Regions from separate parts of the Homo sapiens genome. Here all the other regions are linked to region 5. Evidence: promoter capture Hi-C in 16 types of primary human blood cells and fetal thymus (Javierre and others, 2016). All regions are on one chromosome and are shown on one strand. Each heading gives the region's core, a stretch centred on a gene start or on the middle of the fragment in contact. The rest is flanking DNA. Distances are from core to core; before and after follow the strand shown. Region 1 overlaps NAP1L1 (nucleosome assembly protein 1 like 1). Region 2 holds the start of KRR1 (KRR1 small subunit processome component). Region 3 holds the start of GLIPR1 (GLI pathogenesis related 1). Region 4 holds the start of OSBPL8 (oxysterol binding protein like 8). Region 5 holds the start of RAB21 (RAB21, member RAS oncogene family).

Region 1 (5,184 bases), core at 131-2,630, 4.3 Mb before region 5:
TATAAAGGAAGGAAAGGGTAAAGGGGTCAAAGAGTAATACAGCGTTTACACAAAGGAACCTGTTATAATTTGATGATTTTAAGTTCCATTTCAAACTAGTTTCATCTAAATAAGTTTTTGGGCAGAATAGGGGTTAGAAGGAGAGAGTTGTTACTTTACACCTATCCATATGTAAGTCGTTTAGCACAATGACTACAGAACATTAGAGTACATTAGTGGGCTTGCCATAGAAAATGGCTTCTATACCTTTGGTTACCAACTCTGCCTTTTACTTCCTGCATATTTGTATATATTTTTACTTATTCAGAAGTTTTGTACATTTTAATTTTTATTGGGAAACAGGGTTATATATATTTTTTCCTTGTGGAGACAGGCTCTTGCTGTGTTGCCCTGGCTGGTCTTAAATGCCTCACCTCAAGCGATTTTGCCTTGGCCTCCCAAAGTGCTGAGTGTATGGGTGTGAGCCACCACACCTGTCTAGAGTTATAATTTCAGTCTTGGAATTATTTTCTAAAGAGGGTACAGAAGAGCATAACAGGGATAAATAATGTAATAGGCAACACTGATTGATTATTCAGGCATTGTTTTAAATTCTGTGTGTATTATTAGCTCATTTAATTTACTTAGAGACAGGTAGCATCAACATTTTAACAAGGAAAAAAAATAGGTGTGGAGTGGTTAGATAACCCGTCCGTGGTTACGTACGTGAGCAGTGATAACTTATGATGAGATAATTTTTATCCTGGTTTTGAAAGAATGTTGACTTACACTGTTCTGCTATAAATCAGCATGAATATTAGTTCATTTTCTGTTGCTTAGAATACCTGAAACTGAGTAATTTATTTAAAAAAAAAGAATTTATTTCTTGCAGTTATAGAGGCTGAGAAATCCAAGATCGAGGGGACCCATGTGGTGAGAACCTTACTTGTGGAGACTCTGAAGGTTCCCAAGGCAGTACAGGGTATCACATGGGGAGGGGGCTGAGTGTGCTAACTGGGTAGCTTGGCTCTCCAGCTCCCCTGGTGGGAAACTGGGTAATTTATAAAGAAATACATTAATCCATGAATGGATTAATTCGTTTGTGAGGGTGGAGCCCTCATGATCCAATCACTTCTTAAAGACCCCCATCTCTCAGTGCTGCCACATAGGGGATTAAATTTCAACTTGAGTTTTAGAGGGGACAAATACTCAAACCATAGCAGCATGAAATTCAAAAGCACTCCACCTTGTATCCCACTGTGCTCTAGGGAAAAGCTGTATAGCAGTTATGGTCATGAAGTCTTCTTCCAGCATAGAATTTGTTTACATACACAGTCATGCATGGTTAATGATGGGGATGTGTTCTGGGGGAAATGCATCATTAAGCCATTTCATCCTTTTGTGAATGTCATAGAATGTATTTACACAAACCTAGATGGTACGGCCTAGTACATACCTGGGTTATATGGTATAGCCTGTTTGTTGTTCCTAGGCTACAAACCTGTATAGCATGTTGCTATGTTGAATACTGTAGGCAGTTTTAACTTTTTTAAAAATAAGTTGGAGTGTACTCTAACCACAAAAAGCATAGTATAGTAAATACATAAACCAATAAATCATTTATTGTCCTTATCAAGTATTATGTACTGTAAATAATTGTAAGTGCCATACTTTTATATGACTCTGCAGTAGGTTTGTTTATACCAGCATCACCACAAACATGAATAATGAATTGAGCTGTGACATTACTAGGCAATAGGAATGTTTCAGCTCCATTATAATCTTGTGGGATCACTGTTGTATATGCAGTCCTGTGTTGACTGAAACGTTATGTGACTGCAGTTGGGTAATGGTTTCTTAGCCTTATGTCAGCTCTATGTATCCAATTAGTTCAGTCAGTTGCCTCCCCTCTTCAGTGGAAGATTTTGTTTTTAGTTCAGTTTAGGAAGGAAGATTTCCTTTCAGGAGGCCAGGTGTGGTGGCTCACACCTGTAATCAATCACAGCACTTTGTGAGGCCAAGGCGGGAGCCCAGAATTTCCAGACCAGTCTAGGCGACATAGTGAGACACCCTGTCTTTACAAAAAAAATTAAAACAATATAGCTGAGTGTGGTGGAGAATGCATACCTGTAGTCCCAGCTACTCAGGAGGCTGAGGTGAGAGGATCACTTGAGCCTGTGAGGTCAAGGCTGCAGTGAGCTGTGATCACGCCACTGCACTATAGCCTGGGCAATAGAGCAAAGCCTTGTCTCCAAAAAAAAAAAAAAAATGCCTTCAAGCATGTTTTTAGGGTCAGTTATGTCTTTTGAGATCTTATACACACCATATATGTATGAACCTTTTATTATAAAGTGACCTTTTTATCTTAATGTTTTTCCTTGAAGTCTATTTTTTCCTGACATTAATACGTGATACCAACTCTGATTAGTGTTTTATTCTGAAACTGTCTTTTACATTACAGATTTTTTTTTAAGGAGGTATGTTGAAGTGCAGTGGCACGATCATAGCTCACTGTAACCTCAAACTCCTGGGTTCAAGTGATCTTCCTGCCTCAGTCTCCCGAGTAGCTAGGACTACAGCAGGCATGTTAATTTTTTGTAGAGATGATCTGTGTTGCCCAGGCTGGCCTTGAACTCCTGGCCTCAAGCGATCCTCCTGCCCCAGCCTTCCAAAGTGCTGAGACTATAGACGTGAGCTACCGCACATGGCCTCACCTTCATTCTTAAAAGATGTTTTGGTTGGGGATAGTATTTTAAGAGCCTTAGTTATTTTCAACATATTGAGGATTCTGTTGTCTTTTAGTGTCTTATTGAAGAGAAGACAGCTGTCAGTCTTTTTGTGCCTTTGAAGTTAATCTACCTTTTTTGTGTGTGCTTTTGAGATGAATTTGTTTTTGCTATCTTGCCTTTTTACTGATGTATCCGGAGCTGGATAAATATATGTGTGTGTGTGTGTGTGTATATATATATATGGATTCTTTATTTTATGGTTTTGATTTGTAGGGCTACTTGAATCTGTGGATTGGTGTCTTTCATCACTTAAGGAAATGGAAAATTATTGCGTATTAACTTCTTCAAATATTCTGTCCTCCTGCTCCCAGAACTTGTATGAAGTCTTTATTAGGCTTCATTGGATCTTAACATGTCTTTTCATTTCAGTATTTTCAGTCCTTTAGATTCTGTGGCTCTGCCATATTTTCAAAGTTTTCTTCTAGGCTTCATTTCAGCTCACTTAATTCTCTCTTCAGCTGTGTATCTTACTCTTAAGCCAGCCCATTTAGTTTGATTCATTAGTTTTATTTCTAGAAGTTCTAGTTTTCCAAATTTTGTTATATCACCTTTAATAGATGACTTCCTTGCAGACAGTGTGTTTTCAAACTTAGATCAAAGACAACCAGGCTTACTATGTCTGTAGGTATGTATTTGTTTATAGTCTGACAATTTTTAAGTCTTTGTGTAGGATTGATTTCTGTTATATTTTCTGTTTTTCCTGTTGGCTGTGAAAATTACTTGTATGAATTTTTTAAGGTCTAGAAGGAAGCTTTCATTTAATTTTGATATACAGGTGTCTGAATATACCAGGGACAGATCATTTTAAGTACATAGCTTGGGGTTTGGAGGGCAATACAGATGAGGTAAATTTGGGCTGTTTGTCCAGGAGAATGAATTTATTCTTGAGGATATAGCATTTTGGGGTTCCTGCTTAATTTGGGAGGGTTACCATAAAGATAGCCACCGTGGACAGGCCCAGAATTTTAACTTTGGTTAAAACCAAAGTTCACGTTGCTGATAATTGGCAGTTGACCTCAGTGCAAAAGTGCCTTCCTTCTGCTCCTGTTTTGCCCTCAGTTTTGGGCTGGTGATTCCTTACTATCTTGTTAGCATTTCAGTGCTTTTAAGATTTTTAACAAAATGTTTTTGTTAAAAAACATCTGTACTTTTAATTCTTTTCCTTTTTTTTTTTTTTTTTTTTTGAGACAGGGTCTTGCTCTTACCCAAGCTGGAGTGCAGCGGTGTGATCTCGGCTCACTGCAGCCTCCTCCTCTGGGTTCAAGCAATTCTCCTGCCTCAGCCTCCTGAGTAGCTGGGACTACAGGTGTGTGCAACCACGCCCGGCTAATTTTTTGTATTTTAGTAGAGACTGGGTTTCACCATTTTGCCCAGGCTGGTCTCTAACTCCTAAGCTCAGGCAATTCGCCTGCCTTGGACTTTCAAAGTGCTAGGATTACAGGCGTGAGCCACTGCGTCCGGCCATATTTTTCATTGGTAGAATTGATCTGCATAATCTAGTTTGTCGCTTTCAGGAATGAAAGTTTTTCACAGAGATCTTGGAATGCAATTTAATGTATAACAAATAAGATTCTCACTGATTTTATTTAATGTCAACTGCAGTAAAATATTAATACAGGTATTAACCTAAACTTGTGTTTCTCAATGTGGTCTACCTGAGAACCACCTCTCAGAAGCTGAGTTTCTTGTTTAGAATGCAGATTTTTGGGTCCCACTTCCTCAGATGTTTTTCTGCTTTATATAGATGATGAAATAGAGCCAGAAGTTGTTTGTCTTAGTTTGTAGATTGCTACAAAGTTGATGTCAGCCCAAATGATCTGACTACAACTGACTAGAAAATTAGGTCTATCTTACAACCAAGAAATACAATGTAGCCAGAATGGGCAGGTTAGAGCAGCCTTCTCTGGAGGAGTAAATGCCTCCTGTTAATGTTCTGTAAATGTTCTGTCTTGGATCCTCTTTACTAAAGTTTCATTTTAAGAATTTAAACTGTAAATGTAATGCTGCAAATGGACATTGAGGTTAGCAGTGTAGCCATTCTGTGAACACATTAAAATGTTACAAAAATTTAAATTTGGAAGTTTTAGGTTTTGTTTCTGTTTTTGACAATTGCTGGGTTTAGTAGACACTATATATTAAACCTAGCAAATCTCAGAATAAATTTGTGTATTGGAAATTATTATATAAATCTGTGTGTTGGAAAACCAAATGCAGTCATGCACCACATAAATACTTAGCCATTATATTAAAGTTGCCTATGGTATTCAATACAGTCACATGCTGTATAGGTGTGTAGCCTGGGAGCAATAGTCTATATCATAGCCTAGGTGCGTAGTAGGCTATACCATCTAGGTTTGTGTAAGTATACTCTGATGTTTGAACAACAATACAATCACCCAGAGACACATTTCTCAGA
Region 2 (5,167 bases), core at 195-2,694, 3.8 Mb before region 5:
CTCCATCATATTCTCAATATTCCTCAAATAATAGCAATACTAAGATTAAAAATATACACGTAAATGGGAAGAAAAGCCTATGTAGAAAATTTTGCTATAAAATAAAGGGCTTTAACACAAATATTATTTCTAGACTATTCCCTCCCCTTAATCCCTATCAGCCCTCTAACACATTTGAAGCTCCTAATGAATAGTAGCCCCCTGAAGCTGCTAGGTCAAACTGCCTGAACTTGAAGACGGGCCTTCCACTTATTAGTGATTGAGTTACTTAAAATAAGAATGATAAAAACCTGCTTCATGAGGTGTACTCCTCACTTTATAACTTTCACCTGCTGCTATCTGTTCTATTTTAGGAATTTATCATTTTTTGAGGAAATTAAAAGAACAGAGATAAAATCCCTGTCATTTATAAAACTCACAGGATAAAAACAAAAAACCCCTCTGTCGTGGGTTCTTCTGTCCATATGTAACAATCTGTTTCATACCTGGATCTCATATATGAAAACCTAAATTATTGTATAAGATACACGAGAGTGGATTTATCAGACAAACGTGTATTTCACTAATGCAAGGAATTTAACCTATCAAAGACTTTCCCTATTTGCTGCAGAAAATTTTAGAAATGCAAGCAATAAAATCAAAATTTAAAAAAATCTTATATTTGGCATGTCGAAGAACTCTTATACTTCCAAAAGTGTAGTTATTTGTAGTTAGTGATGAACCTCTCTACACATCTTAGCCCTATGTAATGTTGGGGGTAGAAAAGGAGTTTAGAGATTTTGAGAAATCTTAGGCTAGTTGAAATACTTCAGAAACGTCAGGATGTTGAATTACCATCCCTCTGACTTAGAGAAATACCAACACTCGGGAAGATTACCATCAGAAACAACTTTGAAAAGTTTAATTTTGTCACTGTTTTTAAAATTAGAAATAATGTAAATAAAGTACTGAAACAAAGTAGTCTCACAATAAATAGTAGCTATTCCTGTCACTTGTTGCAGTGGAGGCCCAATATACATTGTATTCTCATATTTGTACTTCCTCCCAACATCTAGCGCATATTTGGCCAACATATAAATATTTATCGAAAGAATGAATGACATCAATGACAGGTTGGTAGCACTCCGCTGTCCGATGGTCCAGGTTAGGCCGTGAGGCCACGAGGAAACTACGGATAAAACAGTATCCAATTTGCCTATACCGCCTGCTAAACTACAAGTCCCAGTACGCAAACTCCATGGTTTCAGGGCATACTGGGAGAAAGTCTCCGGCTCTTCATTGGCCACGTAGGAGAAGCTGTGGTTTGTGTAAAAGCGCGGGCTTAACGCACGTACGCACGGAGACTGCGCAGATCTCCTCGTCTGAGTTCCGCGGAACTCATTTTGAGTGTAGGCGTTTTAGCCGGTAGGGTTTAAGAACAGTTTCATTTCCGGAGCCACCGGAAGCAGCTTGCAAATGGCGTCTCCCTCGCTGGAGCGGCCAGAAAAAGGCGCTGGAAAAAGTGAATTTCGTAACCAGAAGCCGAAGCCGGAGAACCAAGGTGATGTTATGTGGGAACCGAAGCCTGGGGTTTGTGTACGTTGAGTTGCGATGTTTTTTTCTTTCGTTCCTCGTGGACTTATAAAACCACCTGGAGCCTGTACTGTGTAGTTGAGTACCTGAATAATCGCTGATAAGATTTTGGCTGGGCCCACAGGAACGGCTGGCCGATATGGTGCCACCCAGGTGTTCCTAATTCATTGCTTTTGCTAAAGGGTCCCCAAAGCGAAGCTGTTGCGGATTACGTCTTTTGTAAAAGGATGAGTATTAAGAAAATGCCTAGGGCGACGCAGAACCTTGTAAGCCTGCGGGTGGCTGAAAGTCACTGACGGAATGAGGAATAGGGTGAGGTGGGAATAGGTAGTCATGATATACAAGAGTGGACCCTGATAATGGGGTGAGGTATGGGGAAAGGAGCTATCCGACATGTCCTTAGCTCTAGTTTGTCAGTAAAGACATTTTGAAAGATTATCAATTCCTGTTTGTCAGATGCTAAAATATTAGACGACACAGCCCTTACTGTTTAGGTTGTGTTACCTTTTAATTGTTAACTCCTGCGTTGTAGTCTGGTTTTACCCGTTTTCTTCAGTGTGAATGATAGAGAAGTCATAAATAGCCTGGGGATCTGTTCAACCAGGCTTATAGGAAGTGTTAAAAACATTGAACTCTCAATTTAGATGCATTGGGAAAGTATTCAAAGTTTCTTTGTTGTTGCTCATTAAATGATTATGTAACGTACATAGCAGGGGATACAACTTATATAGAGTTTAATAAAACCATGCGGGAAACTAGCATTCAGACTAAGTAAAATAGAGCATTACCATACCCCTCAAACCCTTACGTGCACCTCTCAGATCATATTCTCTTTTCCTGTATCAGACGTAACCACCCTGAATTGTGTTGCATTCTGTTCCTCTTCTTGTAGTCATGAAGTGGCTTAATTTAGCCTGTTTTTTAATTTTATATACATGAAAGTGGACCGTATGCATTTTTCTGTGTCTTCTTAGATTTAGCTTTTTGTTTTTCAAACAGGGTGATACTTGCGGGTGTAGTTTTAGTCTTTTCACTGTTATGTGGTGTTTCCTTGTATGAATATACCCCAATTTATTTTTTCATTTTACTATCGGTGGACATTTGGATTGTTCCCAATTGCTTGCAATTATAAACAATACTGCTAAAACATCTTTGTACATGTCTTCTGGTTAACATGTTCAAGGGTTTCTCTAGGTTGTGAACATAGGATTGGAATCACTGAAGTGTAGGGTGTGTGTAAGTAATGCTAACTTTTTTCCAAAGTGCTAGTGTCAGTTTTGTTCCCACTAGGAGTGGACGAAAGTTGTCATTGCCTTACATTAGTATGAATACATGTTATCTGAATTTTGAATTTCTGTCATTTTGGTAGTTATGAAATGGTATTTGGTTGCAGTTTTAGTTTGCATTTTCTGATCACCTATGAGGTTGCATATCTTTTCACATGTTTTGAGGCTTCCTTAATTGTGAAACTCCTGAGTATTTCTTTTGTCAGTTTTTTTCCTGAGGTTGTAGTGGGGATTTTAAAAAAAATTATCCATAGCCTTTGAAGTGTTTAAATTGGATAGGGACTTCGTCAGGTAAACATTGTAAGTAACTAGTTGCAGTGACTCACACCTGTAATCCCAGCACTTTGGCAAGCTGAGGAGGGGGGATTGCTTGAGCCCAGGAGACCAGTCTGGTCAACATGGCAAAACCCTTTCGCTACAAAAAAAAAAAAAAAATTAGCCGGACATGATGGCACATGCCTGTAGTACCAGCTACTTGTGAGGCTGAGGCAAGAGAATAGATCGCTTGAGTCCAGGAGGTCCAGGCTGCAGTGAGCTGGGATGGAGCCATTGCACTCCAGCCTGGGTGACAGAGCGAGGCCCTGTCTTTAAAAAAAAAAAAAAAAAAAGAAATGTGTATAGTATATAAGTAATCACTTTTGTGGAATTCGTGTTCTTTAAAGGACATTGGAGAATCCTTTATATGAAGACTAGCCAATTGTCTGTGATTTGAACCAGAAATAGCAACGTGGATGTGAGTATAAGCAGAAAGTTTACCTGTCTGAGGCTGCTAACATAGGGTAATGACGTGTTTTTCAAACTTTACCGTGCTTAAGAGTCTCCTGTTGAGCATGGTAAAACACAGATTCTTGTCCCTCGTCGAAGAGATTCTCATTCAGTAGGTCTGTAGTGGGGCCCAATAATTGCATTTCTGACAGACTTACAGTTTGTGCTGATACTGCAAGTCTATGGATCATACCTTTGAGTATAACTGAATTAGAGTATAGCTATTGAAATTAAGGAGTTCTTCAAATTCAAGATCAAGAGTTTTTTAAATAAATGATTCAGAAGATAATTTACGGCCCTTAGGAGGCATTTTCTTGTAGTGAAAGGAGTCCCAGGCTGAGTGAGCTTTGTGTTCCCTTAGGCAAGTCACTTAACCTTTTTAGACCATCTTCTATAAAATGAGAATAATAATACAGATTCTACCTTTTATAGTTACGATGAAAGGCGTATGGAAATAAGGCACTCAAAATGCTTAGGAAAATCTAGAATTACCAGTGATTATTAACTGAAAGATAAACTAGAATTCTCTTTCAGAAGTTTTACACAAACACATACATCCAGATTCCATACACTCCAGGAAAGTCAGAAAGGTTAATTGTATTTAAAATACTAACCAAAATGGCATTCAAATCTTCAATTTTATGATAGTGTAGTGCAGTACATGTTTCTGGAGTACTCACTATCTGCCTGGCATATGCCAACTAGTGTGAAGAGGGTTTCTGCTCTTAAGGAACTTTGTCATATGAGGCAACTGAAATGTGTACAGATAATTTTAATACAGAGAATTGATGATAATGACAGAGGAACGTTCTTTGACTCTTGAATAATATAAAAAGCAGGGGAAAAGGAAATGCAAGGAGTATTGGAAGGTTTGTGAATATGTGCATAGGATGTTCATAAAGTGTCCAAAAGACAGTTAAAATGTGATGTGTATGTCCAAAAGACAGTTAAAATGTGATGTGTAAATTTTTTCCTTTCTGTAGATGAATCAGAACTCCTTACGGTTCCTGATGGTTGGAAGGAACCAGCTTTTTCCAAAGAGGACAATCCCAGAGGACTTTTGGAGGAGAGCAGTTTCGCAACTTTGTTCCCAAAATACAGGGAAGCTTACTTGAAAGAGTGTTGGCCATTGGTGCAGAAAGCCTTAAATGAACATGTATGTGTATCTTATATCAATACATTTATTTGAGACTTTGCTCTTGCTTATGCCTTTAAATGTATGTATGCTAATGCTTTTTTTTTTTTTTTAATGGTGCTAACATAGCTGGTTACTTTGGTTCCTTTGGTATTCTAAACTATTTAAGTAAGTTTTCTTCTTACCTAATGTTCATTTGTTTTAATTTTATGAGTAATAAATTACTTTGAAAAATTTACATACCTTTAATATTTTAGGAGCTTCACAACTGTCTGAAATTCACCTGTGAAGTCCCAATTTCAGTATGCCTGCTCCAGGCCATGATAGTTGTCATGTATCTGTCCCAGTCTGAGCTGAGTCATGTTTCTAATTGATTACCTTTCATCTTAAATGGAAGATGTGGATGTGT
Region 3 (5,289 bases), core at 50-2,549, 3.7 Mb before region 5:
TGCATATCCGAGTCTTGAAGTCATAGTCCTGGATTTCGTCATACCAGTTTGTGATGGCGGAAGACACAGAAAAAATGGGCACAGACCCAGTCCAGATGTTCTCTCCCAGTGAAGTGAAGTTTGGGTGCAGCTTGTGGGGTGGCTTCAGCCGTGTATTATGTGAAAACTGGCAATTGCTGGCCCATGCTTTTGCAATTTGGGCTAGTGCTGGGTCCCAAGTCTGCAAAAATAAACATTAAACAATAGGGGGTTCATCTGAAATGTAACTGGGGTGAGTACAGTGGGAATTTGAATGGAAAACGAGGTGAGATAAGGAGAGAAGATACCACTGCATATGAGTCCTCTATAAATATGGTCTTCAAGCACTGAGTAGGGCTGGTAGGAAACGTGACAATTTAGTTTCATGGAATTTAGAATCTAAGTGAGGAAAACTGACATTTCACTGAAGGCTAATTGTGGGCAAAATAGTGTGTGCCGTGTTTCACAACATTATTCCATAACCACAACAGCCCATATCCTAAGAAGTTCAGAAAGGTTAAAAACCAGCTTAAAGCCACAGATCTGAAATTCAATCCCAAGCCTTACTGAATCAAAATCCCATCCTTTCCCCAGATGCCATTCTGCCTACCTGAGCAACTCAGTACTTTGTCAGCAGCAAAAAAAGTAAATTTAGAGACAAAAAAAAAAAAAAAAAAAGAAAACCAAATCACAAAAATTAACAGGGAGGAAGATAACAAAAAGAGAAGTAAAATCCACTGAAAACCAGAAAACAGGAAGTGTCCAAAGAGAAGTAAAATGTGCTGTGGCACTTGCTTATAACAACAGTTGGGTAGACAGAGCTAAACTGGATGTGTTTTGATCACAGACTGTGAATTTACTGCATACATTAATCACAATGAAAAAAAAATCATTCAGTATTACGAAGGTATTAACACCAAAGTCAATACACATTAGTTGTTTCTGACTGACTGACGCCACAATTAATGATATTTTCCTTACCATGTATAGCATATCACTGGCTGTTGGTTTCACCTCTGATCGGAACTTGTTATGGATTCGAACGCAGTCTTTGATGAAATCTTCATTTTCGATATCTGGCAAAATATTTGCTGTGTGTGAATAATTGGAGACAAAAGAAACCATCCAGGCTATTGTAGCAAGTGTGACACGCATGCTTTGTCTGGCATGGAGCCTTGGGAGGCTGCAGTCCAGAGCCGCCGCAGTTTCTGAGAGTGTGATTGCCTGAGTGCTCAGCCCACAGCTTTGCAAACCTAGCCGACTTCAGCTTTGAGAAAACAGAACAGAGCATGAGTTCATCACTAGTTTTAAGAAACGGGTTTCTCCATATATGGTGTGCAGCTCACTTTGTGTTCTTAACCCTGTCTTTTCAGTGGTTTTCAGTGACACAGCACCTATTACGACATAGATTTTTATGAGGCTGTGTCAGACTTCCTTTTGAATTGGGAGATATTTCCAAAGAAAATTCTGAAGTCTCCAGGAATAATAGTCTCCAATTTTTAATGGAGGTTGCGGTGATAAAATGAAAATATCTCTTACTTCTATAAATGCCTCGCAAAATGCTTTCAGAAATCTTTTTCTTTTTAGAGTCATATCAACACATAGTGGTTGGAATATCTGGTTAACATCATAAACTTGACCTAGAATTCATTCACGATGGTAGAAACATGTAAGCGTGTATGTGTGTGTGTGTGTGTGTGTGTGAGAGAGAGAGAGGGAGAGAAAGAGAGAGAGAGAGAAAGAGAGAGAGGGATTGAGAGGGAGAATAGTAGAAAGAATACAGGACTCAAGTTGAGAATTTAGTTTCTGTTTCTAACTAGCTGTAAGACCTTGGACAGGATACAAAACTCTCTAAACCTCAGCCACCTATTGAATGAGACTATGGGACCTTTTCTGCTTCCTTAATTACAGAGGTTTGGCAGGATCAAATGAACTAGCTAATATTAAATTCCTGCCTTGTATATTCACCTTAGTAATACAGAAATAAAAACACAGTCACTGGCCCCAAGGAGCTTACAGTGGTAAGAGCTGTGAGATGGTGATGACAAGGATGTTACAACAGGGGCTGTTGGAGATCTGGATATAGGAAAGCACAGGTAGATATGGACACACAAGAGAGCATACTTAACCCATTCTGGAAACGGCAGAGCCGGCCTACATACAGCAGGTGAGGTCTTTGCTGAGGCTAGAATCAGCTAGGTGTTGATCAAGTGAAAAAGCGCTGGAGAGGAGAAGGGAATTAGAGGGATAGGAACTATATATCTAGTTGTGAAATTGAAGACATGGTGTTATGGCAAGAATAGAGCAAGAACCTCTCCATATTGTCTCCCTCTGTAAATATGGTCTGTAAATAAGTAGTGATTCTGACTGGTAGAAAACTTGATACCTGGTGTCATGGAATTCAGAATCCAAATGATGCTTTCATGCCACTTGGGGGAGAGAAGTTAAGAGTCAGATCAGGAAGGATTTCTCAATTCTGCTAATGATTTTTTATTTTATCACCAAAGTCATGGGAAGTTATTGGAGGATTTTAGCTGTAGGTGGGGTTTAGACCTGGTTTTAGAAAACACGTGTATTTTAGAAAATTAAGAGAGATGGAAAATGGAATGAGGTGGGGAAATATTTCTAATGCAAACAAAAAGTAAAGAAACATTCCAGGCACACCTGTAGCCCCACCTACTCAGAAAGTTGAGGTGGGAGGATAGCTTGATCCCCACAATTTGAGGCTGTGAAGAGCTATAGTCAGGTCACTGCAATCCAGCCTGGGTGACAGAGCGAGGCCCCATCATTAAAAACAAACATACGGGCCAGGCGCGGTGGCTCACGCCTGTAATCCCAGCACTTTGGGAGGCTGAGGAGGGCGGATCATCTGAGGTCAGTTGTGCAAGGCCAGCCTGACCAACATGGTGAAACCCTGTCTCTACTAGAAATACCAAAATTAGCCTGGCATGGTGGCACATGCCTGTAATCCCAGCTACTTGCGAGGCTGAGGCAGGAGAATTGCTTGAACCTGGGAGGCGGAGTTGCAGTAAACTGAGATTGTCATTGCACTCTAGCCTAGGCAACAAGAGTGAAACTCCATCTCAAAAAAGCCCAACCAACCAACCAAACAAACAAAAACCATTACAGAACCATAAGGCAGAATTACTATTGCCACACACACACAAATAACCTTAAAAATACTCATACATAAATTCAAATTTTGTCCAGGCTGCCTAATTTCTACTAGCATGTCTTTACATTATAGGAATCTGAGATAAGCAGTGTCTTATCCAGGTCTCATAGGCAACTTTTTGATCAATGTAGTGACAATAAACAAAGAGACCTTTCTCCAGTTTGAAGTGGTAACCATGTCTAAGGCCTGCTTCTCATCTTCTTCTGGGTCTCTGTGAGCTAGACTGAGTTTTGAATACAACAACAAGAAAGAGGAAACCCCACGAGCAAGCAAAATCAGTGGTTTTTTTGGTTGCTTGCGTAATCCCTGTTATACACATACAACTCCCAAGAATGAGCAATGTTATCTTGGTCTTGAAATGATTTAATATTTTTTCTCTACTTTCCTGAAAATAATCAGCAAAAGGGAAAGTCTGCCGTCACAGAGATGATTTTTGTGTTATTGTGCAGACCAGGTTAGCTCCTTAGAGCTACAACTCTAAAACTTTTCAATTCACACTACACGTTTGCACCAAAAGTCCAGAGAAGTGGTTTGCCACAGAACAGGAACTTTTACTTGGAAGCAAATGTAAGCCTGCACTGCTTAGAAGGCTTTGAACTTTGCTATGACTTTTTCCACTTCTTAACCCAAGTCTTCACCATGATCTCTTTGATAATTATGCACGTGTGTTAAGACAGAGAGATTGGTTTTTAGTGCTCATCACTCATGGTAGCATTTTAAAAGATTTTTAACTTTCTTTTTAATTCTTCTCTGTATCGTTTAATTTTTTTACAGCAAGAACATGCTATCTTTCATAGTAATAAAATAAACTGCAATTATTTTGGAGAGTCATGGGATCTTTAAAATCATGCACAAATTCATACATATACATTGCCTGATAAACCCATGCATAGATAAAAGACTAAAGGAATATCCACAATTTCAGTATTGTGGGTAATACTGCATAATGGACTATGTCTCTCTATCCCCGCAAGCTTTACTCAAGTGTCTTATAAAAAGCAACAGTTTGTGTAGCTAGAGATAATCATTTATATTATGTGGAAAAATCTCAACCTTGCTATACTGTTCTAAATATATCAATTTATATATATGATGAGCTTTTTTATTTCTTGGGGAGAAATGATATAGAATTTTCTATAATCCCACACTTCCTGATTAGATTCCAAAAACATTTAGGCTCCAAAACCTCTAGCCACCTATTCTACTGGGGCTATGTGTTGGGTGTGGGGATAGACAAAGATAAAGGATTCAGAAAGAGGGAGGGGCTATATTTATTAAGCAAACATGTCACTGTTACATTGTTGTGTGATGATACTTTAATTTGGTATAAATTAGTTTTACGTATGTGACAATGTACAAGTTAACTGTAGTCCATATTCTAGAAGCAGTTAATTAGTGCTGAAGTACTCTAACCAAGAATCCACACTCCAAAGGTGATGGTTAACACTTCAGATATGGTTATGGAAATTGATACCTGAGAGTTTGTTAATTAGAACAGGGCATGTTAGAGAATCATTTTCACTGGCAAAATGAGTAATTTTCATGGTGAATGGCTTGTGGGGAGATTGAACACAGCCTCCTGCTATTGCATGAATGAAGTATAAAGAAGCAGACATCCTCAGATCTCTATTACTGCTGGTGTAGTGTTCAAGGGAATTGCCACCTCACAAGAGGTCCCCGTTTTCTGCCTTGACTTCAAGGCTGCTAGTCTTAACTTTAGAATGTCTGTTTAGTGAGCTTACCATTGGAGCGTCTAAGAGTAGAAAGCAGGAATGTTTCTGTAATTGTTTGCTAATGAATGTTAAGACATTTAGCAAAATTTGTCCAAGACTTACTTTCATAATAGCATACTATCAGGTACTGGGTTTGTAAGGGAGGGGAACATAGCCTTTGCATAACTCAGCTCTAACTGCAAGAGGCTTCAATATTTATCAAAGGAACCTGACATTTGAGGCCATGTTAGCTTAGGTCAGTTGGCAGCAGTGATGACAAGCACCAAACCTTTTCAAATTCATTATCTCACTATGCTCTCATAATAATCTTGTGACATATATATGTGTGTATATATATGTATGTGTATACACAAAATTATTCCT
Region 4 (5,410 bases), core at 1,180-3,679, 4.8 Mb before region 5:
AAAAAAGGTGGTTTAGTATCATTTCTCAAACAGCATGTGGTCCTACTTGATTGGAACTTGAAATGCAGGGAGTAATTTATCTAGTCATACATCTCATTAGCTAAGTCTGTAACCTAGGCTTCCTTGCTTCCAGTACATTGCTTTTTCCAACAAATGATCAAATTTTCAAAAGCCAATGTATGAAATTGGGGCTGAGGCAGAAGAGAATTAGGCAAGGCAATTTGCCACCTTTTTCTAATCTTTAGTCTCAGTTTCCAAAGTAAAATAAAAGTACCAGAAAAACGGGGTCCAGATGGTGTATTTTGCATATTATCTATGCTCTAGGAACATTCTTTTCCAAATCTATTTGATTGCAACTCACAGTAAGAAATTGTTTAAATCACAACATAGGACATACTCTCACCTTCCACCATATTTGAAACAAAAAGTTTCAGGAAGCAATTTTTGCCCTTACTAGACATTATGCACTCTGGTATTTTATATTGTATTACATCCTAGCCTATTTCATATAAAAATGAAATTGATTTTTGAGTTGCAGGTTGAAAAACATGCCTCTAGAAAACAGGAGACAAGTTAATCTGTTAACAAACTCCAAAGTTACTAGCTTTGCTGAAATAATGTCACAGAATAATAAACTTCCTTCACATTTATTTGTACTACAGTCTCTCAGGCTTCAGAACAGAACCTGGTAGAATCTTTTCCTCTTTGGAACACCAGTTCATGACAATATCTCAGAGATTCTAAGACTCGTTGTTTCCCAGTTCATGACAATATCTCAGAGATTCTAAGACTCGTTGTTTCCCAGTTCATGACAATATCTCAGAGATTCTAAGACTCGTTGTTTCTGACATGTTTACATCTCTGAATTCAAGATGTGTCTCAGGCCGGGCGCGGTGGCTCATGCCTGTAATCCCAGCATTTTGGGAGGTCGAGGCGGGTGAATCATTTGAGGTCACGAGTTCAACACCAGCCTTGCCAAAATGGTGAAACCTCCTCTCTACTAAAAATACAAAAATTAGCTGGGCATGGTGGCGCATGCCTGTAATCTCAGCTCCTTGGGAGGCTAAGGGAGGAGAATCGCTTGAACCGGGAGGCGGAAATTGCAGTGGGCCGAGATTGCGCCTCTGCACTCCAGTCTGGGAGACAGAGTGAGACCCTGTCTCAAAAAAAAAAGGAAAAAGATGTGGCTTAAAGGTGCCTTACATATCAGCGGTATGGCATAGTTTCATTGGCAGCCTTTGTTTTCTTTCTTGGGTAACATAAAACAATGTAAGTCTATGATTTTTTTAGAGCTGCTATGAAATATATTAATAATAATTATATAGGCCAAACTCTATTGCTTATTCATTTCAATGTATCCAGCTTATCAGAATGCCTTCTGATTTCTTGTTAAGAAAATGTAATGAGATGAGAATAGCTTAAGAAAAAAATCCTTAGTTCTGGGCTACAAGGGAAAATGAGTTATGACCCCAATTTAATTATTACAGAAAGCTTTCTCATTTGCCTTCATTGTGATCAGGGTTTGAGTATGATCTTTATTCTACCTCCCTTACTTCTGTATAGTTAGGATTTCATTAGGCGGCTAGAGGGTTCTTCGGATCATGGCTAAAAAAGAAAGCAAAAGGTTAAGTCCTAGAGTTAAGGAATTAGGAAAAAAAAATTAAGGCATTAGAAAAAAAATCAAGAATTAGGCTTTATTTTAAAAAATGGAACAAACTGTCAAATTCCTGCGTACCCGTTTAAACTGTCACCAACCTAACACACTGTAAAACTTAATGACTGTAAAACTGGCAGCAGGATCCTGAACATAACAAGGAACAAAAATAAGTTTGCTAGGCTGTTTTCATCCCAGCATGATTGAAATACACCGTTTCCTCAAAAAAAAAAAAACCTCTAATGAGGAAAGCAGTAAATTAAATGCCACGGTTAATGTGCCACTAGAAATAGGAACAAGTAGTTTAGTTACCGAATGCTTCTTAGGCCATACACTCTACACCACGATGCGTTCTTTTTTCTGTTTCGCTAAAGCTTTCACCAAGCCTAAGGCTGGAGAGGGGTCCTAACTGAGCCCTGACCAGACCAGGGAGCCCTACTGTGCAATCTCCTCAGGTTAGGAAGGGCCCAGTATGACCGGCCCAGAAGGCCTGGCCGATCAACAGGCGCTGGGCCGACGGTGGTGGGCTCGCTTCCTGAGGCTGCCCTTGGGCATGCGGAAGGGGACTGGCTGGCGATAACACCCTGGCGAAGCAAGGTGGACAGTGACTCCCGCCCGGTTCGAGCCCGCCTAGCAGGGGAAGCAACTCCACCACCGCCTCCGCGCACCGTCACGTGACGGGAAGAGGGCGTGGCCGAAGCCCGTGATCCGGGGGGCGGGCGGGGCAGGGGGAGGGCACTAGAATGTGAAGGATCTTCGCGGTTCTGGGTGCCCAGAAAGGCGGCGACGCGGCGGATGACAACATTAGGCCGCGACGCGCTCCTGGCCAGGCGGCGGCTGTAGTGTTAGCTTTGGACGCCGCAGTAGCCGCTGCCGGTAGCAAGCCGACTGAGGGAAGGTGGGGGTCCGCCCGGGCTGGTGGACCTCGGGGCCGAAAGTTCCCGCCCCGCTCGGGGGCTGAGCCGGCAGTGCCTCCGCGGCCGCTGGGCAGCGCCCTTCGTCCAGGCTCGCGCCCCAGCTGCCGCCGACGACAGCGGCCGAGAGAAGTTGGGGTCTGACTAGACGCTTACGGGGCCTCGGACCCCGGCGCCGCGGCGACCTCGGAGGAACCGGCTCCTTGCGTCCCGCCTCCCTGGGAGCTCCGCACGGGTGAGTGTTGCTCCATTCCTGAGGTTGGGGTGCTGGGTTCGCACCCCTCAGGGCGACTGCGCACCCTTATTGCCACGTTCTGAGCTCGGGCTGTCGGGGACTCCTGGCCACCCCCGCCGAGGAGTTCTTTGGCTCCTTTGTTCCCTTTTGGAGTAGGGGGATTGGAAAGGCTGGCAGGGTGGAGTGTTTAGGGGCCCACAGTAGGTGCATCTGCAGCCTTACAAAAGCCGCGGCAGGGGAACGGGGGTGGGAGGCTGTTGGAGCATTTCGACCGCCCCGGGTGTCTGTCCCTCCTGAAGTTTGATAGGTTGATGGCATGGGCCTCGTTGGGAGCCCCCGCGCCCAGGAGAGCTGGCGCTTTGTCGCTCGGTGCGGTTAAGGCGAGGCTCCTTCTTTCCTGTGACAGCCCCAGAGAAGGCTGTGCCGCGCACCGCAGACCGCACCCGCCTTTGCAGAGCCAAGCGACACGGTGTTGTTCCTCTAAGCCTCAGTTCTCCCGGCCTTCTTGTAACGTAGGAGGAAAGCCAAGCCTTTGCTGTGCTTTTAAATTTAATGTTTGTTTCTAAGCCCTCTCTCAAGAGTGGAATCAGGTTCCAAGGAGCTTCACAGGCAGCATGCTTTAGGTTCATTGAACCACCCACTCAAGACTGGCTGAGGCGAAGCAACAGTATATGCAGATTTTCCATTCACAAAAGTCATTTAACACTCTTCTTTATGAGACACATCTGCGTTGCAGAACGTAACCTAATTTCATTTTATTTAAATGCTTTCTGAAATAATAGGTAACTTGGACAACGTAAACAGATGGGTAAACTTTAACTGATAATGTAAGTATATATGCATTAAATAAAAAATTTAATGATGTTTTTGCCTTTCTGCTGCTAGAAGACTTAAATGACGTCTGAGTAGTAATACAGTGTCTCCTGCATGGCAGTTAAGTTTTTCCCAAAATTAGTGCTGCTTTTGAAATAATCCTTTAAAACAGTTTTTGCCTCCCTTCGTATCTAGAGAGAGCAAGAATTGTGGAGAATCGTGGGTGAATTGATTGTTAAATTTTGCTAATTTCCTAGAGTTTCATCTAAACTTGATTTTGCTGAGAGGCTATGATCAGTTTCTATGCTTGCTAGAACCTGTTTTGCAGTGAAATTATTAAGATCATGCTAGTTTTATAAAATAGGTTGGAATAGGAAAAGTAAGGCCATGCAATTTAAAACTGTTCTCTATAAAAGTACAACTAATTTCAAATGTTTGTTACTTTTATTTTTTTTTAATATTAACCGTGTATGGAGTGACTATAATATACCTGCTCAAAGGGCTGAGAAAGGAAATAGATGAAACTTAAGCTACCTTTTGGGTCTTTAATTATGGACATCAAGTTATTGCGGTCACATTCCATGTCAACCGTTTGAACAGCAATACCGTGTACACAGGTGCTTAGAAATGCCTGTTTAATTAAAAATGGCCATGGTTTATTTCTCTTTGATTGAATCATAATAGTTATTGAATCTCTGATCTGTGGAAAGATGCTACTGTATTTTCCTTAGAATGTTACTGCATTTTAAAGACAGTCAAATATGTTTTTTATAACACATTCAGGGTACTTATACATTTGTCAATATTCAGTTCCTTGGTTCATTTAAAAATTGGAAGCCTTAGAAAACACTTTGGGGATAAATTTACAATTGTGTATAATGAATTTATGTTTTAGTTTGCTTTAAGAAAAATGATGAAATTATGAATTTGTAAAATATGCATTACAAAAGGATTTTTTTTTTTTTTTTTTTTAAGACTGTCTCACTCTGTATCCCAGGCTGGAGTGCAGTGGTGCAACTTGGCTCACTGCAGCTTCTGCCACCTGGGTTCAAGAGATTCTTATGCTTCAGCCTCCTGAGTAGCTGGGATTACAGGTGCGTGCCACCATGCCAGGCTAATTTTTGTATTTTTATTAGAGATGGGGTTTCACCATGTTGGCCAGGCTGGTCTCCAACTCCTGGCCTCAAGATCCGCCCGCCTCAGCCTCCCAAAGTGCTGGGATTACAGTCATGAGCCACTGTGTCTGGCGGATCTTTTGTTTAAAAGTATGAATTGCAGAATTTTAACCAGTGTTAGTACATTTCAACTTGGCTTTGGTTTGTAAATAATCCTTCAAAAGTAGATTACTTGAATTAAGGCATTAAAGACAAAGAATTGATACAGTACATAGATCTAGTTTTCTAATATTAATTTGGAAAACTTTTATCCTAATATTATCCTAATAACAATGCCTGAAATGTCATGTTGTAATGTTTGTATTATATTGAAAGTTAAAAACATTTATAGCAATGTTCTTGGAGCATCAGGCAATTCAAAGAGGACATAGGTCCTGCCTTAATCTTACAAATAATGACCTGCAAATAAGACAGAAACACAACTTGAATAAAAAAGCCTTTGAGAGGCCAGGCCCGGTGGCTCACGCCTGTAATGCTAGCACTTTGGGAGGCTGAGGTGGGCAGATCATGAGGTCAGAAGTTCAAGACCCGCCTGGCCAACATGGTGAAACCCCGTCTCTACTAAAAATACAAAAAAATTAGCTGGGCGTGGCAGTGTGTGCCTGTAATCCCAGCTACT
Region 5 (4,931 bases), core at 48-2,547:
TTTACTGCCTTTGACCAAATTGGTAAGTCAAATTAGTAGGATAAATTTCTCCTAATAACATCAAAACTGATTTCTCTGGGAGAGGTGGGGTGAGTACAACTCCCTCAAAGGCCTGGCTTCACTCTCAATCAATGATAACATTTTAACACCTTTCCAATGTACCTGTGGAAGAAAGCCGACCTTTTATTTTACAGGTAAAGAAACTGAGTAACAGCAGCGGCTTTTAGTCTGGGGACCAATTGTTGGCCAGTATTCACTTGATGTTTCAGCGTGGGTCAATCGACCTCGCAGAATATGAGTGACCCGCAAGTCAGACCCACGCAGGCTGCAATGAAACTGCGTAACACGCCTAGGCAAGCGGTCATTTCAAAAAACCTCCAGAGATGGCTCTTTTGCCATTCCTGTTACTCAGGACAAAATGGAACTTGCATAAACACTTAGTCATCAGTAAGCGCTGAAGTTACAAATCACCTAATTCGCAAAATCAAATACGCAGCTAAGTTCCTAATTCTGAAAGAAAGAAAAGGAGCTAACATTTGGAGACTGCAACACTGACACCTGGGACCCAGGAACTGCAGTAAATGGGAAAAAACAGCCCACGGACGGAGACCACAACGTGCGCAGCCACCACGGGGAACACTGGGGACTTTTCAGGGCCCTTCCACTTCCCTCCCAACAGCCTGTCCTCGCGTCTACAGGCTGCCCCGACCTGGTGATTCCCCAGGGCGAATTCGGAAAGGTAAACCGAAGGCGGAGATGACAGGCCTGAGATTTGCCAGCCTACATCCAGGGGACCAGGGCGGCAAAGTTTCCCCAGCCCCGGAGGGGTAGGGGCCCTGAGGCGCCCCCTCCCGCTCCCCGAGGTCCGCACCTGCAGAGTGGTGATGTGCTTGTCGTTAAACTTGTTCTCGCAGTAGCGCAGCACCAGCGACGTCTTCCCCACGCAGCCTTCCCCCAGCAGCACCACCTTGAACGAGTAGGCTCGGCCCGCCGCCGCCGCCCCGCCGCCGCCGCCGCCGGCCGCAGCCATCCCGTCGCTTCCCGGCCGCCCGAGCCCGAGTGTCGCGCCGCCCTCCCGACAGCCGCGGCAGCGCCTTCACAGCCACGGCCGGCTCAGCCCCCACCGCCCCGGCCCCGCCGACCCGGGCGCTGTCCCCACGCCCTCCTCGGGCGAGGCCTGGAAGGGCTGAGGGAAAGTCCGAGAATGAAGGGCCCCAGCCCACCACGTCAGGCACCGGAGGAAAAGCGAAGAACGATCCCTCTCTGCCTCCCTCTAATGGCGTCTCCTTCCTCCTACGTCACACCTCGGGTCACGTGAGCGCCGGTGCCGGGGCGGCCCCTGCGACTAGCCCCAGAAGAACGTGCCTGGACGTGGGCGGGGCTTCTGGGGCATCTCCCGGGGTGGAGCTGGATGTGAGTCGAGCGCCTACTGGCAATCTAGGGCAGAGCCCCGCCGCTTGCGAGCCACCTCTGCTTTTCAGTTGGTGGGAGCCAGCGGGAATAAGGAACCAGGAATTTGAGGCGAGCCCAGCTCTGGTGAAATGAAGGGCAGAACTTCATCGTTTTTGCATGTTCACAATGCTAATGATCTGTCACACCAGAGGTCACTGTAAACCATATCTGCCAAGGTGCCCTTGAATCTCTCTCTGTGGGATCCCGAATCATAGCGCTTCCAAGTTCCTCTGACCGCCTGGTCAACTACTCCATCATCTTTCAAGTCTCAGCTTAAACCGCGTCCCTGACCACCCAATCCTTCCCCCATCCTTCCATTCCCCCACCTCACAAAATTAGGTATTTCTTACCACCAGTATACCTCCTTTACTAGGGCTTTACACACTCCATGGATATTATTAATACTTTGCTAAGTGTTTATCGACTCTCATTAGACTATAGGTTTGTTGAGGGCAAGGTCTGTATAAGAGCTGCCCACCTTTGAATTCCTAACCCCAAGTGCTCTTCAGTTTTTCTGACTTTCATGAAGCCTCTGACGTTCCATGGTACTCCACCTTGAGGTGGCTTGTTCGATGATTGCTTGTTTTTTCTCATCTGCATCCCCATTCTTTTTTGTTTGTTTGTATTGTTAGTTTTGAGATGGAGTATCGCTCTGTCGCCCAGACTGGAGTGCAGTGGCGTGATCTCAGCTCACTGCAGTCTCTGCCTCCTGGTTCAAGTGATTCTCCTGCCTCAGCCTCCCGAGAAGCTGGGACCATAGGCGCCCACCACCGCGCCCCGCTACTTTTTGTATTTTTAGTGGAGACAGGGTTTCACCATGTTGGCCAGGCTGGTCTTGAACTCTGACCTCAAGTGATCCACCTGCCTCGGCCTCCCAAAGTGCTGGGATTATAGGTGTGAGCCACCACGCCCGGCCTGCCTCCAAGAAACCATACTCCTCCAAGAAATCATACTAATATTTCTGAAAATTTACTGGAAACCTGGTGTCAGGTAAACATTTTTTTAAAAATCAAACTTCTTTCACACTTCAAACCAGGTTAAAAAAAAAAAAAGAGGCCGGGCGTGGTGGCTCATGCCTGTAATCCCAGCACTTTGGGAGGCCGAGGCGGGCGGATCACAAGGTCAGGAGATCGAGACCATCCTGGCCAACATGGTGAAACCCCATCTCTACTAAAATACAAAAAATTAGCTGGGCATGGTGGCACAAGCCTATAATCCCAGCTACTCGGGAGACTGAGGCAGGGGAAGCGCTTGAACCCGGGAGGCAGAGGTGGCAGTGAGCCGAGATCGCGCCACTGCACTCTAGCCTGGCGACAGAGGAAGACTCCGTCTCAAAAAAAAAAAAAAAAAAAAAGAGAGTCGGTTAATTCATTCAACAAATATTTAAATGTGCCCACCATATGCCAGGCACTGTGATCAACAAGATAAAATGTCTCTGTCCTCACAGAGCTTACATTTTATCAGGGAAGACAGACATACTCAATTGTACAATAAATGCTTTCATCTTGATGAAACAGTTCAGAGTATCTTGCAAGCATATATGAGAACCCAACTGATTTAGCATGCTAGAGAAGCTTTCCCTGGAGAAAGTTATCTTTGGGTAAGAGTAACCTAGTCAGGAAGGACAGGAGAGCTCTGCAAACAGAGATAACAGCATGTTCAATGGCTTTAGATAGGAAGGAGCATCTAAAGTTGAGCAACTGTAAATGTGACTAGAATTTAGGGAGGAAAAAAAAACTCCAGAAGAGACCATGAGGAAGTTGGGGATCAATACTGAAAGGGTCTTTAAGCAAATGAAGGATTTTCGTAAGATGACTGACATAATCAGATTTGACCACTCTGGCTATCATTTGAAAAGTGAATTGGAGAAGGATAATATTTTAGATTTGTTTAGAACCAACCATTAAAGAGACTCTATGTTTTATAAAATATCCTCATGATTGTATCTAAAGATATATTTTCCAACTCTCTCCTCCACATTCCTCCCCTTAGGGTCTTTGCACATTTATAGACACTTCCAGAACTAGAAAAGAACTTCATTTTGAGAGAGCACCTTCCATTGTTCTTTCTGAGCACTTCCTCATATTGGATTGAAATCTGCCTCTCTTCACCTGCAATTAATTATTTCTGTTTATATTTATACATTATATATCGAATCCCTATTCCCTATAAACATATGAAGAAGGCTGTGTGTTCTTCCTTTAAGCCTTCTCCTTTCTTCTTTTTGATACAGCCAATCCTTTCAACAACTTTTCAAATTGTGTGCATTTGATTATTTAACAGCTTGGTCATCTTAGAAACTAAATGCATTACTTTGCATTTATCACTAAATCAAAGCAATTAAAAATTTTTTTATTGTAAAACAAAATAATTTTTTTGTGAGACAGGATCTCACTCTGCTGCCCAGGCTGGAGTACAGTGCCACAATCACAGCTCACTGCAACCTCAACCTCCTGGGCTCCAGCAATCCTCCCACCTCAGCCTCCCGAGTAGCTGGGACTGCAGGTGTGTGCCACCACACCTGGTTAATTTTTTAATTTTTTTTGTAGAGACGATATCTTGCGTGTCTTGCTGTGTTGCCCAGGCTGGTCTTGAACTCCTGGGCTCAAGCAATCCTCCAGCCTCAGCTTCCCAAAGTGCTGGGATTACAGGTATAAGCCACCACACTCAGCCAAAATAATTTTCGAAGTTAAAATAAGTTTTTACATTTAGCTTACGTTGACATTTAAGAAGGTAGTGCAAGTTTTCATGGGTTACAATAAGTAGGTTGGCATACTTTTGAGCACAGAGTGGGTAAATATAGATGTAAATTGTAATAGGCTGATAACGGCCCCTAAAGATATCAGCTCCTAGATTCCGGAGCCTGTAGATGTTACCTTATTTGGGAAACAGGTCTTTTTGATTTAAGTTAAGGATCTTGAGATGGGGAGATTATCTGGGTGGGCCCTAACTGCAATCACAAGTATCCTTATAAGAGAGAGGCAGAAAGAGATGCTTCACACCCAGAAGAGGAGAAGGCAGTGTGACCATAGAGGCAGATTATGGAGCAATGTAGCCATAAGCCAAGGAATGCTTACAGCCACCAGAGCTGGAAAAGACAAGAAGCCCCTAGAGCCTCTGGAGGGGGTTCAGCCCTGCAGATATGCTGATTTTAGCCTAGTGAAACTAATTTTGATTCCTGACCTCCAGAACTAAAAGAGAATAAATGTGTGTTGTATTAAGCTACCAAGTTTGTGATCATTTGTTACAGCAGCCATAAGAAACGTACTTAAGTATGTTGTGAGAAAACAAGTAGCCCATAACAGTCAAAGCATTGAAAGAGATTCAGGCCAATTCTGGGATAGATTCTACGCCCTTAAGAATTTAGGTCAGTCTTAGAGTCAACTATGATTGGTCTGTATAAACTTAACACGGACTGCCACAAAAAAAAAAAAACACTAGAGCTCCAGTTCCTCCGTAGAGAAGAGCTGCAAAAATAT

What was found. Contacts are between HindIII fragments. The CHiCAGO score rates a contact against its expected background, and 5 or more counts as called.
Region 1: a fragment that was not itself captured here is called in contact with the fragment with the promoter of RAB21 in region 5 in 1 of 17 cell types (activated CD4 T cells); the score reaches 8.3 in activated CD4 T cells.
Region 2: the fragment with the promoter of KRR1 here is called in contact with the fragment with the promoter of RAB21 in region 5 in 1 of 17 cell types (non-activated CD4 T cells); the score reaches 7.1 in non-activated CD4 T cells.
Region 3: a contact is called between the fragment with the promoter of GLIPR1 here and the fragment with the promoter of RAB21 in region 5, in 1 of 17 cell types (naive B cells). The highest score is 5.3, in naive B cells.
Region 4: the fragment with the promoter of OSBPL8 here is called in contact with the fragment with the promoter of RAB21 in region 5 in 2 of 17 cell types (activated CD4 T cells and naive CD8 T cells); the score reaches 5.5 in activated CD4 T cells.

What each region holds. Positions count from the first base shown.
Region 1 is chr12:76,076,749-76,081,932 of GRCh38, reverse strand. All of the region lies in intron 1 of NAP1L1 (nucleosome assembly protein 1 like 1), which reads left to right. Among named protein-coding and RNA genes, the nearest start is that of NAP1L1, 5.3 kb to the left of the region's middle. The HindIII fragment of the contact is 4,283 bases long and covers 1-3,521 here.
Region 2 is chr12:75,507,886-75,513,052 of GRCh38, reverse strand. It overlaps KRR1 (KRR1 small subunit processome component), which reads left to right and starts at 1,444. Exons shown (of 10, transcript NM_007043.7): 1 at 1,444-1,540; 2 at 4,607-4,779. The coding sequence starts at 1,456. RefSeq lists enhancers at 1,477-1,636, 1,143-1,686, 1,687-2,231. The HindIII fragment of the contact is 5,214 bases long and covers 1-4,731 here.
Region 3 is chr12:75,476,765-75,482,053 of GRCh38, reverse strand. It overlaps GLIPR1 (GLI pathogenesis related 1), which reads right to left and starts at 1,299. Exons shown (of 6, transcript NM_006851.3): 1 at 1,000-1,299; 2 at 1-220. The coding sequence starts at 1,173. The HindIII fragment of the contact is 5,495 bases long and covers 1-4,169 here.
Region 4 is chr12:76,556,790-76,562,199 of GRCh38, reverse strand. It overlaps OSBPL8 (oxysterol binding protein like 8), which reads left to right and starts at 2,429. Exons shown (of 24, transcript NM_020841.5): 1 at 2,429-2,803. It overlaps LOC105369850 (a long non-coding RNA gene), which reads right to left and starts at 2,298. Exons shown (of 4, transcript NR_188081.1): 1 at 1,967-2,298. RefSeq lists a silencer at 2,599-2,788 and an enhancer at 3,199-3,508. The HindIII fragment of the contact is 3,809 bases long and covers 2,031-5,410 here.
Region 5 is chr12:71,751,229-71,756,159 of GRCh38, reverse strand. RAB21 (RAB21, member RAS oncogene family) reads right to left here and starts at 1,297. Exons shown (of 7, transcript NM_014999.4): 1 at 872-1,297. The coding sequence starts at 1,030. RefSeq lists enhancers at 406-595, 1,236-1,525 and a silencer at 976-1,255. The HindIII fragment of the contact is 5,965 bases long and covers 1-3,028 here.